3 separate regions of the Homo sapiens genome follow, and regions 2 and 3 are each linked to region 1. Evidence: promoter capture Hi-C in 16 types of primary human blood cells and fetal thymus (Javierre and others, 2016). All regions are on one chromosome and are shown on one strand. Each heading gives the region's core, a stretch centred on a gene start or on the middle of the fragment in contact. The rest is flanking DNA. Distances are from core to core; before and after follow the strand shown.

Region 1 (3,611 bases), core at 450-2,949:
AAATAAAATTCCTGTCCAATGACAACCAGGAAGGCAGATGGGGGTGAGCTCGAGCTGTGTGAGGAGGCCGCTGATGACCTGGAGCTTAGGGGTGTGCTGACCCTCATCTCCCTGGGGATTCCCAGGAGACGCTGCCCTACCTGTAGCTGCAACTCATGGACCCTGTTACCCAGCCAAGTGCAATGGAGGGCTGGCGAGGGAAGAAAGATCAAAGGAAGAAAAGAAAGGTTCTTTTTTATTTCAAGTATGAGAAAAAGAGAGTTCTACTGTGAGAACATCAACTCTTCTGTAGCTATTGATGTAGCCAAACTCCTGGAATGTAACTATATCTAACAGTGTTTCTCTGAGAAACTTTTACAGGATTGGAATGTGTGTAGTATCTAGTTAACCTGCTATTTTATTGCAAGTGATTTTTTCAAGTTATTAATTGAAATAGGAGTCTACCGTAAGTTGCTCTTAACTTGGGGAACTACTTTGAATGGCATTAATCTGGACCATTAATAACAATGTATACTTGGGGATTGTGTGTGTGTGTGTGTATACATGTGTGTGCATATATGTGTGTACACACACGTGCACACACACGTGCGCGCACACGTGCACACACACACGTGCACACACACACGTGTACACACACACGTGTACACACACACGTGTGTTACTGTACGTGGAGACTGTACATCTTAGGTCACACACCACCCCTGAACCAATCCTACAAACACCATAGGTGATACACACTGTCAAAGACAAAGAGTAGATGTCCACAATAGCTGTTCTTTCTCGTTTATAACACTTCTTTTACCTAGTAATAATCAGCTACCATTTACTCGATACATACTGTGTGCTGCCTCTTCAACCTTTTGACCATTTAAACTACAGGAAACTAGGTTATCTTCAGGTTACCTTAGTTATGGGAGTGTATGGAAAACATTAATGGGAAGGTGAAAGCGCAGCAAACCACTTCAGCAGTTAACAGAAAGGCTCTCAGAGCACTGGACCGCCAATCAGGACACAGCAGCAGCTCTGGGATTCGACCACAGATTCTCTGGCGTGCCCTTCGGGAAAGGGTGGCCTCGGGCCCCCTACTCTACAGAGTCTCCTCCCACGGCTGCCCAGTTCCCTGGCCGACTATCTTGCCTCCACCACATCACCATCAGTACCGGGCGGCTGCAGGGCAGAGCTGTCCAGGGACCTCCTCACAGCCTCCAGAGTCAAGAAATGCCTCCTCAGGGAAGCCCTCTACCGCATCCCTGACCTGTGAGTCACGGAGCTCCCGGGCACCATGCTGGCCACAAATGCCTAAGGAGCCCCCCGGAACCAGCTGTGGGTCCCGCAGGCACTCGCAGGCTAGCGGACACCTTTGGAGGACTGAGAGACCTGTCCTGCAATCCAATGTTCCTCACTCTCACAAGATTTTACAGACGTGGAAACCGAGGCCCGAGGCCCCAAGGGGTAATCGGCCCGCCTTCCCATGCCAATAACCGGCAGTGGCGGGACCCACACCTACTCCGTGACCTGCAGGCCCAGGGGTCGAGCCCCAGGTAGAACGTCTAGACGGACTCCGCCCTTAGCGCCGTACGGGGAACCTTCTCCCGGACGCAGACACGGAAGCGGAAGTGCTGCCGAGCTGTAGCTATGGAGACGTGGGGGGCGGGCCGCCCGGAGAGCGCGACCTTTGACCTGCAGTAGAGCCTACGTCAGAGGCTGGCGCAAACAGAAGTGCAGCGGTGGCGGCGGCTGGTTGCGGGCCGGCGGCGGGCTGGCGGAGATGGAGGTAACTCAGGTCGGGCCCACTGCCTCCCATCAAGCCTTCCGCGCCGCGATTTGGGATGTGGGAGTGGGCCCGATGGGAGGGCGCGGTAGTCTCCCTCTTGGTGTCCCGAAGCCCGCGCTGCTGTCGCCTCCCCATCTTTCGTAAACTCTATCCCTGGGGGTTACCTGCCCCGTAGAGCCCGTTTGTGTACGAATTGCCACAGCGACCGCCTCCGTCCGCCCTCATTCTCTGTCTCACGAGGCTTTCCACCACTTGATTCCATAGAAGGTTTTTCCCTGTAAGGGTTCTACGCGTTCCGTGTGGAATTAGGAAAAGAGTTCTTCTGACACCTGGGTTTGATTTTGTTTTGCAGGATCTTGTTCAAGATGGGGTGGCTTCACCAGCTACCCCTGGGACCGGGAAATCTAAGGTGAAGAGAATACTTGAATAGCGGGCTTCCTGAAGAGTGGAAGGGTGATGAATTGGAAAACTTTGGCATGGGGAAGGGGGGGGCGCTGATTTTTTTTTTTTTAATAGCCTTGCTCCAAGGGATCTCAATTTTAGTGTGCGCAATCGCCCATTTCCTGTTTCTCCCCCGCCCACCCCGATATAGAAAGACTTTTTGTTTGCTTCCTGCTCCTGGTTAGCACTGCTGGGAGATCCTGCTATTTTTCGAACATAAAGCAGTCTAAGAAGGTTTATATAGTGGTGTAGTGGAAGGAGCAGTGACATAGGGTAGGAATCAAGGGATTCTGATCTGTGGGCTCCAGTTTCTACATTGCCAAAGAGTTTAATTAGTCCAGTTTTATGGCCCTGTACAATGTTTAACATTCAATCATTCTAAATGATAGTGGTTTATTGCTAAGGTTTATTGTGTGCATGCTAAATTTCTGGCGCTTGCCTAACCACTCAGTTCCTTCGTTTAAGCTTCATGATAACCATGAGATAGGTACTGTTGTTACCCTCCTTTTACAGATGAGAAACCTGAGACCACAGGCTTAAGCAATTTTCTCAAGTGGTAAAGCTCAATTTTTTAATTAAAGCCTGAATGTTACCCGGTTCATCTTGCTGCTGTAATTATGCGTAAATTTTCTTGTGACCAAAGACTTGCAGCCTTGAATAGAATGAAATAATTTTACAGCTCCAAGGAATTTTAAGTAGCATTAGCTCCAACCTACTGATTTTACAATTAAATCAAAAGCTAGCAATGTCAACCTGTAACATTAGCTATAAGAGGATATGGCCTGGTTTTTACGTTTCATAGTAGTTGCATAACTAATTTTTAGTAGTTGCATAGCAATTACAGAATTGACGTTGCATTTGCTGATTTTAAAAAATGTGGCCGGGCGCGGTGGGTCACGCCTGTAATCCCAACACTTTGGGAGGCCGAGGCGGGCAGATCACCTGCGGTCAGGAGTTTGAGACCAGCCTGGCCAACATGGTGAAACCCCGTCTCTACTAAAAATACAAAAATTAGCCGGACGTGGTAGCGGGCGCCTATGATCCCAGCTATTTGGGAGGCTGAGACAGGAGAATTGCTTGAACTTGGGAGGCAGAGGTTACAAGTGAGCCAAGATCGTGTCATGCACTCCGGCCTGGGCAATAGAGCGAGACTCTGTCTCAAAAAAAAAATGTGGAACAAAGTATGCGGTTGGCATAAAGATTTATTCTGTAGAATGTTTTTGTTTTCTAGCAGACATTGTTTCTTTTTTGTGGTATACTAGAAACATGAGTTATAACAAGTTGGTAACATGACCACATCTTTCAGCTGGAAACATTGCCCAAAGAAGACCTCATCAAGTTTGCCAAGAAACAGATGATGCTAATACAGAAAGCTAAATCAAGGTGTACAGGTATT
Region 2 (3,611 bases), core at 741-3,240, 580 kb after region 1:
TCACCTGAGCTCCTGGGCTCAACAATCTTCCTGCTTCAGCCTCCAGAGTAGCTGGGACTATAGGCTCATACCACCATGCCTAGCTTTTTTTTTTTTTAAGAGATGGGGTCTTGCTATGTTGCTCAGGCTGGTCCTGAACTCCTAGGCTCAAGCGATCTTCCTGCTTCTGCCTCCCAAAGTGCTGGGACAATAGATAAGAGCCATCACACCTGGACAGCGCATTATTTTAATGGCCACCGTTTTTGCTTTTAGAAGAGTGTGTCTGAGGTATTGCCTGTCCCTTGGGCCCCTCTTCCCTCTGAAGCAAGGGGACCAAAGGCTGGCTATGCAGTCATGAGCTCCCAGCTCTAAGGTGAGGAAGCACCGTTAGTGTAGGATACACTGGATATGTCATGTATTCAAGTGGGGAAAGCAGCAGCCCAGACTGTGCCCCTCACATCCTGATTGCTCGGCACCCTCTAGGTGGGGAAAAAGCTCAAAATGATCTTTTAGAAACAGCTGCTCCTCTCAGTCTTATTTCCACACTTGCCAATTCAGAGCTGCCAAATACTTCTTAAAAATCATTAGAAGTGGCCGGGTGCAGTGGCTCACGCCTGTAATCCCAGCACTTTGGGAGGCCAAGGTGGTGGATCACGAGGTCACCATTCTGGCTAATGTGGTGAAACCCCGTCTCTACTAAAAATACAAAAAATTAGCCAGGCATGGTGGTGGGCGTCTCAAAAAATAAAAAAGAACCTCTGAAGACATTGGCCGGGTGTGGTGGCTCACACCTGTAATTGCAGCACTCTGGGAGGCCAAAGTGGGCAGATCACTTGAGGTCAGGATTTTAAAACCAGCTTGGTGCGTGGTGAAATCCCATCTCTACTAGAAATACAAAAATTAGTTGAGCGTGGTGGTTCGCACCTGTAATAGCAGCTACTTGGGAGGCTGAGGCAGGAGAATCACTAGAATCCTGGAGGCGGAGGTTGCAGTGAGCCAAGATTTGCACCACTGCACTCCAGCCTGGGCAACAGAGTGAGGCTCTGTCTCAAAAAAAAAAAAAAAAAAAAAACAAGGACCTCTGAAGACTTCTTGAAGGAGGGTGGGTCTCCTGGGGGACTAGCCTCATCTTGGAGGCATTGCAGAGGTCTCCTGGGCCCAGCCAGACCCCAGACATCTTGTTCCTTTGTGGAGTCTTCAAGGGAAGAGCTTTTGAAGCCATAAGGAAAGACTGGATTTTGAAGACAAAAGTAACTTTCCTCTTTTGAAGGCAGCATGGAGCCAAGGAAGCCTGTGGAGCCTGACATGAAGGCACAGGCTCTGAGCCTGGCATGTCCATCCACCCTCTGTTTATGATACCCTGGGCAGGGCCTAAGCCCTCCTGGGCCTCAGCTCCCCTCCTGTAAGTGGTGACAGACCTCACAGGGTTATTGGGCACTGACGTGGACAAAGTATCTGGAAGGAAGCAGTGCTGCGTAAGCGTCGTTATGACTATGGGGACTCAGCAGGACCTAGGCCAGGAGCAAGACCTAGAGTTGATGAGGGCCTGGGCTCCAGGAGTGGGCGGGGTGGGTGGGCGGCAGCTCTGCAGCCTGGCATGCTGGCCTCCCCGCCATGCGTCTTCCTTCTCCCTGCAGGCTCTGAGTCCCTGCCAGTCCCCTACTTCTGTCTCTCCCAGAGCTGCTACTCACAGATCCATCCTCAGAGGGAGCACTGGGCTCTGCCAGTTAATGCATGTGTCCTGCTGAGGCAGGGAAGAGCTCAAGGCTTTCCTGGTACTGTTTAAAAACATACTGGCAGGGTGAGGTGGCTCACGCCTGTAATTCCAGCACACTGGGGGGCCAAGACAGGCAGACATCTTGAGCCCAGGAGTTTGAGACCAACCTGGGCAACATGGTGAAACCCTGTCTCTACAAAAAATGCAAAAAATTACCTGGGCCAGGTGACATACACCTGTAGTCTCCACTACTCAGGAGGCTGAGGTGGGTGGATCACCTGAACCCAGGACGTTGAGGCTGCAGTGAGCCATGATCATGCCACTGCACTCCACTCTGGGTGACAGAGTGAGACCCTGTCTCAAAAGAAATAAATAAAATAAAAACATATTGTTCGATTTTAAATGCTAAACCATAATTGACACCTGAGCCTCAGGGCTAATGGAAAGTACAAAGTGCATGCTGGGCCACGGCCCTTACCTCCACTGAAGGAAGAGCCTTACACCAAGAAGGTAGGCCCTGCTGCTGCACCCTGGCTTCCCCGTTGCTGGGAGGCCTGTCTCCACACGCCACCCTCAGGCCCTCCTGCACAGTGGCTCATGGTGGCTGACACACTGTATTTGAGGGTGACAGTCCTTGCATCAACATCTGGACAGTGCTGAATGCTGTTTCAATCTCCTCTGCTGTGCCCTAAGCATCCGATCCCAACAGCCCTCACTTAGAGGAGTGCTCTGACCTATTCCACAGGCCCTCCGAGGGTGGCAGACATGCACCCAAATGAGTAGCTTAAGTCAGTAGGCCCGGTTCTTGCCCTTCCCCCACACATATCTTGCCCCTCCTACACCTTGACCCTGGACCTAAAGCAGCAGAACAGAGCTTAGAGGTCATCGGGTCTAAGCCCCACTCCTGTCTTCCAGAGCAGCCTCACACTCTCAGGATCTGTGTGGCTGTCAGGGACTGTGAGGGCCAACTGAGAATGCATGTGTGAATCTGGCTGTCACGACTTTAGTTGTGATTGTTTATTTATTTATTTGTTTGTTTATTTATTTATTTATTTAGTAGAGACAGGATTTTGCCATATTGCCCAGGCTGGTCTCAAACTCCTGGGCTCAAGCAATCTTCCCACCTCAGCCTCCTAAAGTGCTGGGATTACAGGCGTGAGGCACTGTGCCCGGCCTATGTGATTGTTTATTTCTTTAGCCCTCACCTCATTCTAAACTACAAAAATAAATAAAATAAATAAATAAATAAATAAGGTTTAAGGCAAGATTATTGTTATTACTGTTAATAGGACACCTGGGCCCTTTCCTCCTTCATGTCAACACTGAGTCTATGGAGTCCCTCCCCATCCCAGCCCCCATTCACCCCCATGGCCGCAGCTGCTGGGTTCTGCCTTGGCCACTCCTCCAAGTTCCTTCCATAAAGCTAGTAAAGCATCCAGGAGAGGGATGATGAGGGACCATGTGTAAATGGGAGAAACTTCATTAGGGTAAGGAAGGCATGGGAATCTGGAGGTGGGAAACCATGATGTGGCTGACACTGATGCCTGAAGTTATTGAAGGGTGCCTCAGCCCTCCTGGGAAGCAGCAGCTCAGTGTGTGTCTGTCCGTTTCCAAGGGAAAACCTGGTCCTCTCAATGAGGGGAAAGAGGAGATTCTGCAGCATGTGTGTCCCTGCCGGGCAAACTTTACAGCATCAGGCTCCAAAAGTAGAGCAGGGTGACCCTGGGGAGCCCTCCCTCCTTCCTCGGCCTGGGATGCCTGCCTGCTGCCTGTGCTGTCTCCTCTGTTCCCCTCTCCTTTCCTGGCTGGAACAGCTGCAGGACAGGGCCCCCCGGCAGCCATCATCCAGCCTTTCATCTCTATCCTTGTCTCCAGCCTTGCCAGCAACTTAAGCCTAATCATTGCACAATGAAAG
Region 3 (3,611 bases), core at 734-3,233, 510 kb before region 1:
CAGAAGAAGCTGAACTACATGCCAATCACATTCAACAAGTTCCTATCAAATGTCTGAGCTACAAGTTGACAGAAAGGAAAAATGGAACACAAAAGCACTTGCATTATGCACTCATATTACATGTGAAGTGTGTGAGTGAGAGGACGGGTGAAAATGTCCACTTTAAATGACACTAGGAAGGCTTCACTAAAGACATGTTTACAAGCTCTCAATTATAAGCACCTTAAAAGGATGGGTTTCCCAGCACAGAATCAGAGATTACAGTGGCATCATGGAGATAAGGGTGGAGGTCTACAGCAAAACAAGACGGAAAAGCTTGCTAGGGGTAGAGATGTTGATAGCATCAAATAATATTTCAGTGTTATTTAATTACAGTTATCATGTGCCATGGCTTTACACATTAACTTTGTTTATAAACTGTGATAGTCTTCAAATTATTCAAGGGCATTCCGTGTTATACGTCCTGCCATACTGTCATTGAGAAACACCATGATTCTGATTTTTAGTACACTTTCACATTTACTTACGCACCATTTATCTGTCATATATATTGTACAGAGGCTTTCCTAAGCCTTCAGAAACAAATTAAAAGTGACCTTTACTACCAAGACATTCAGTCTAGCAGAGAAGTCACAAATATATTTCATTAATAGCAATACTATGTAATAAGATAGAAGATAAAAAGTAAACACAGTGGATATGAAAACACACAGAAGAGAAAACACAGGTGGAGAGGGAACAGCGGGGAAAAACACAGGGAGTTTCCCTAGATGAGGGACACATGAGCTACCCATCTGCCATAAGGTGCCCAGGAAAGACCTGAAGACATGAGTGAGACTTTATAGACTAGTCTCCAAGTCAGCCTCCAAGAATGGCAATAATTATAAGTTCAATAGTTCTGAATCTCACAGGATGCTAAGATCAGTATCTTCCATTGTTTCTGCATTCCTTTATCAAGTAAAATCTCATTGAGTGCTTACATGGAGCACTTTTTTTTTTTTAACTCTTTTAGGTCTCTTGAACACAGCAGGAAAACTGGAGAGTCAAGGTTATTACCCTCCAGGAGCTTCCAGCTGGGAGACAGGGAACAAACTAGTGGCTTACTGACCAGGGAGTTTGGCTTACAATAAGCCCTAGAAAATAGGGTGACATGTTAAAAGGTGAAAGGGACAGGGTGAGGGGAGCATGCAGAAGCTGGTCACAGACAGCTTCTTTGAGGCACTGATACGTGAGTTCAGAACTGAACATGAAGAAGGAGCAGGCAAGTAAAAAGTTGAGGTGGGACGGGAGGCATCCCCTGCAAAAGGTATGGCCAGGACAAGCACTGAGCCTGAAGGAGAGAAGGAAGGTCAGTGGGTGGAATGCATGGATTGTGGGGAGGTGCATCAGGAGAGATTGGAAAAGTAAGCAGGGCCAGAGGGGGATAAGGAGTTTGGGGTGTATTTTAAGTGCAGTGGAAGTGATTGAAGGAAGTTAATAAGTAGGAGACGACAAAGCCTGATTTACCTCTGAAGACAGCCACACTGGCTGGTGATAAGTGGAGAATGGACAGTCGGAGGAGAGGGCAAGAGTGAAAGCAGAGACCGGATCTGAGGCCGCTCGGGAGCTCCGGCTAAAGACAATGGTGGCTTAGACTAGAGAGATGACAGAGATGGAGAAAGTGAGGTCACAGAAGAGCAATATGGTGCAGATATGAGAGACAGAATGATTTTCAGTTGATTCCTGGGTATTTGGGAGATAACCTGGAGGGATAGTGGTATCTTTTACTGACCTTTGGTATTTTTTTTGAAAATTGATTCAAAAGGGATGATTAGAGAGTTAAAGTTTGACAGGAGGAAGGTGGGCAGCTTCTTATAGGCCAATGTGGTAACACAAGGAAATGTGTCTGTACAGGACCGGAGAGAGACCAGCAAATTCACAAAATTCTATGGGACCCACCCTCTGACAGCACTGTTTGTTCCCAGAGCATGGGATGGGCCTCCTTCTGCTCTCCCTGAGTCTGAGCTTGCGGTCTTCTTGGTGGCTTATGAAGGGAACACGCTGCTCCACCTGTTTCTAAGTGGGGCTGAGCAAAGGGGAAACAGTTCTTTAAAAGAGAGGGCTGGCCGGGCGCGGTGTGTCATGCTTGTAATCCCAGCACTTTGGGAGGCCAAGGCGGGCTGATCACGAGGTCCAGGAGATCGAGACCATCCTGGCTAACATGGTGAAATCCCATCTCTACTAAAAGAAAAAAAAAAAGAAAATTAGCTGAGCGTGGTGGTGCGTGCCTGTCATCCCAGCTACTCGGGAGGCTGAGGCAGGAGAATCTCTTGAACCCGAGATGCAGAGGTTTCGGTGAGTCGAGATCGCACCACTGCACTCCAGCCTGGTGACAGAGCGAGACTCCGTCCAAAAAAAAAAAAGTTGGGGGGGAGCTTACGCTTTTCATTAAATGTATACTTAAAATTTTAAAAATAGAAAACGATGGGCCAGGTGCGGTGGCTCATGCCCGTAATCCCAGCACTTTTGGAGGCCGAGGCGGGAGGATCATGAGGTCAGGAGATCCAGACCACGGTGAAACCCCGTCTCTATTAAAAATACAAAAAATTAGCCAGGCGTGGTGGCAGGCGCCTGTAGTCCCAGATACTCGGGAAGCTGAGGCAGGAAGATTGGCGTGAACCCGGGAGGTGGAGCTTGCGGTGAGCCGAGATCGCACCACTGCACTCCAGCCTGGGCGACAGAGCGAGACTCCGTCTCAAAAAAATAAATAAATAAATAAATAAAATAAAATAAAAAACTATGGATTTACAATCTTTTAAAACCTAGAGATCTGCTAGGCCTTCTAACTCATTTTTTTATAAATGAGAAAATACAGACCAAGAGACAATAAGTGATTTGCTAAATTCATACTGTGTTGCTGTTACTAAGAGAGCTTGTGGCCTTATCTGACAGTTGATGCTGAAGTATTTTCTTCATACCTCTGAGTCTCTCAAGTCAATTTCAAGTAGTGCTCAAGACTTTGCTAATCTACAAAGCCAGATCACATGATTTGAGACAGAATGGGAAAAACCTTCTTTTCCTTTATACACCCAACGATGCCAACCTGGGGTAGTTGTTTGTGATGGCCTTGCTTTCATTAAAAATAGACTATACAAAAGCTAAGCAATAAAATTTAAAATAAATATAATAAAATTATGTCAAGATTTAAACTTATCTTCACATAATTAAGTGGAACCACCCAGGACCTTTGATTTAGTAAACAGTAGTAAAATATTTTATCTTTCCCAAATCTTAACCTGTTTTCATTAATTATGTGGGTTCACCAGCAGAGGGCGACGTGATACCTTTTTTCTTTTTTGCCCCCTCCCCCAACAAACAATTTAAAACAAGTGGCTAGAAAATCAGAATCCCCTTGATTACATCCTATTGATAATTCACTATTCATAGGAGCAATTAGGGATTCTCTTAATGTCAGCAGAGTATACTTGTTCATTCTTTGGGGTAAGGATATGAGACTGGGTGATCTGGAGGACTTGCTGAGAGCTGGTAGGAATTTGAAGCTGTTTCCATGAATGTTTCTGCTGTGTGAGTTAACGAACTCGAGCTAGCATGGCAAGGTCATGTTATTTAAT

The links. The method cuts DNA at HindIII sites, captures the fragments that hold promoters and counts their contacts. A CHiCAGO score of 5 or more calls a contact.
Region 2: a fragment that was not itself captured here is called in contact with the fragment with the promoter of GCC2 in region 1 in 1 of 17 cell types (fetal thymus); the score reaches 5.0 in fetal thymus.
Region 3: a fragment that was not itself captured here is called in contact with the fragment with the promoter of GCC2 in region 1 in 1 of 17 cell types (M0 macrophages); the score reaches 5.2 in M0 macrophages.

What each region holds. Positions count from the first base shown.
Region 1 is chr2:108,447,507-108,451,117 of GRCh38, forward strand. GCC2 (GRIP and coiled-coil domain containing 2) reads left to right here and starts at 1,700. Exons shown (of 23, transcript NM_181453.4): 1 at 1,700-1,774; 2 at 2,127-2,183; 3 at 3,522-3,606. The coding sequence starts at 1,769. RefSeq lists enhancers at 640-1,622, 1,527-1,786, 1,623-2,604, 2,690-3,190, 3,191-3,611. The HindIII fragment of the contact is 5,578 bases long and covers 1-2,678 here.
Region 2 is chr2:109,026,214-109,029,824 of GRCh38, forward strand. It overlaps a transcript of RANBP2 not described here. Among named protein-coding and RNA genes, the nearest start is that of EDAR, 39 kb to the left of the region's middle. The HindIII fragment of the contact is 7,284 bases long and covers 1-3,611 here.
Region 3 is chr2:107,933,663-107,937,273 of GRCh38, forward strand. No RefSeq gene overlaps it. Among named protein-coding and RNA genes, the nearest start is that of SLC5A7, 51 kb to the right of the region's middle. The HindIII fragment of the contact is 3,340 bases long and covers 314-3,611 here.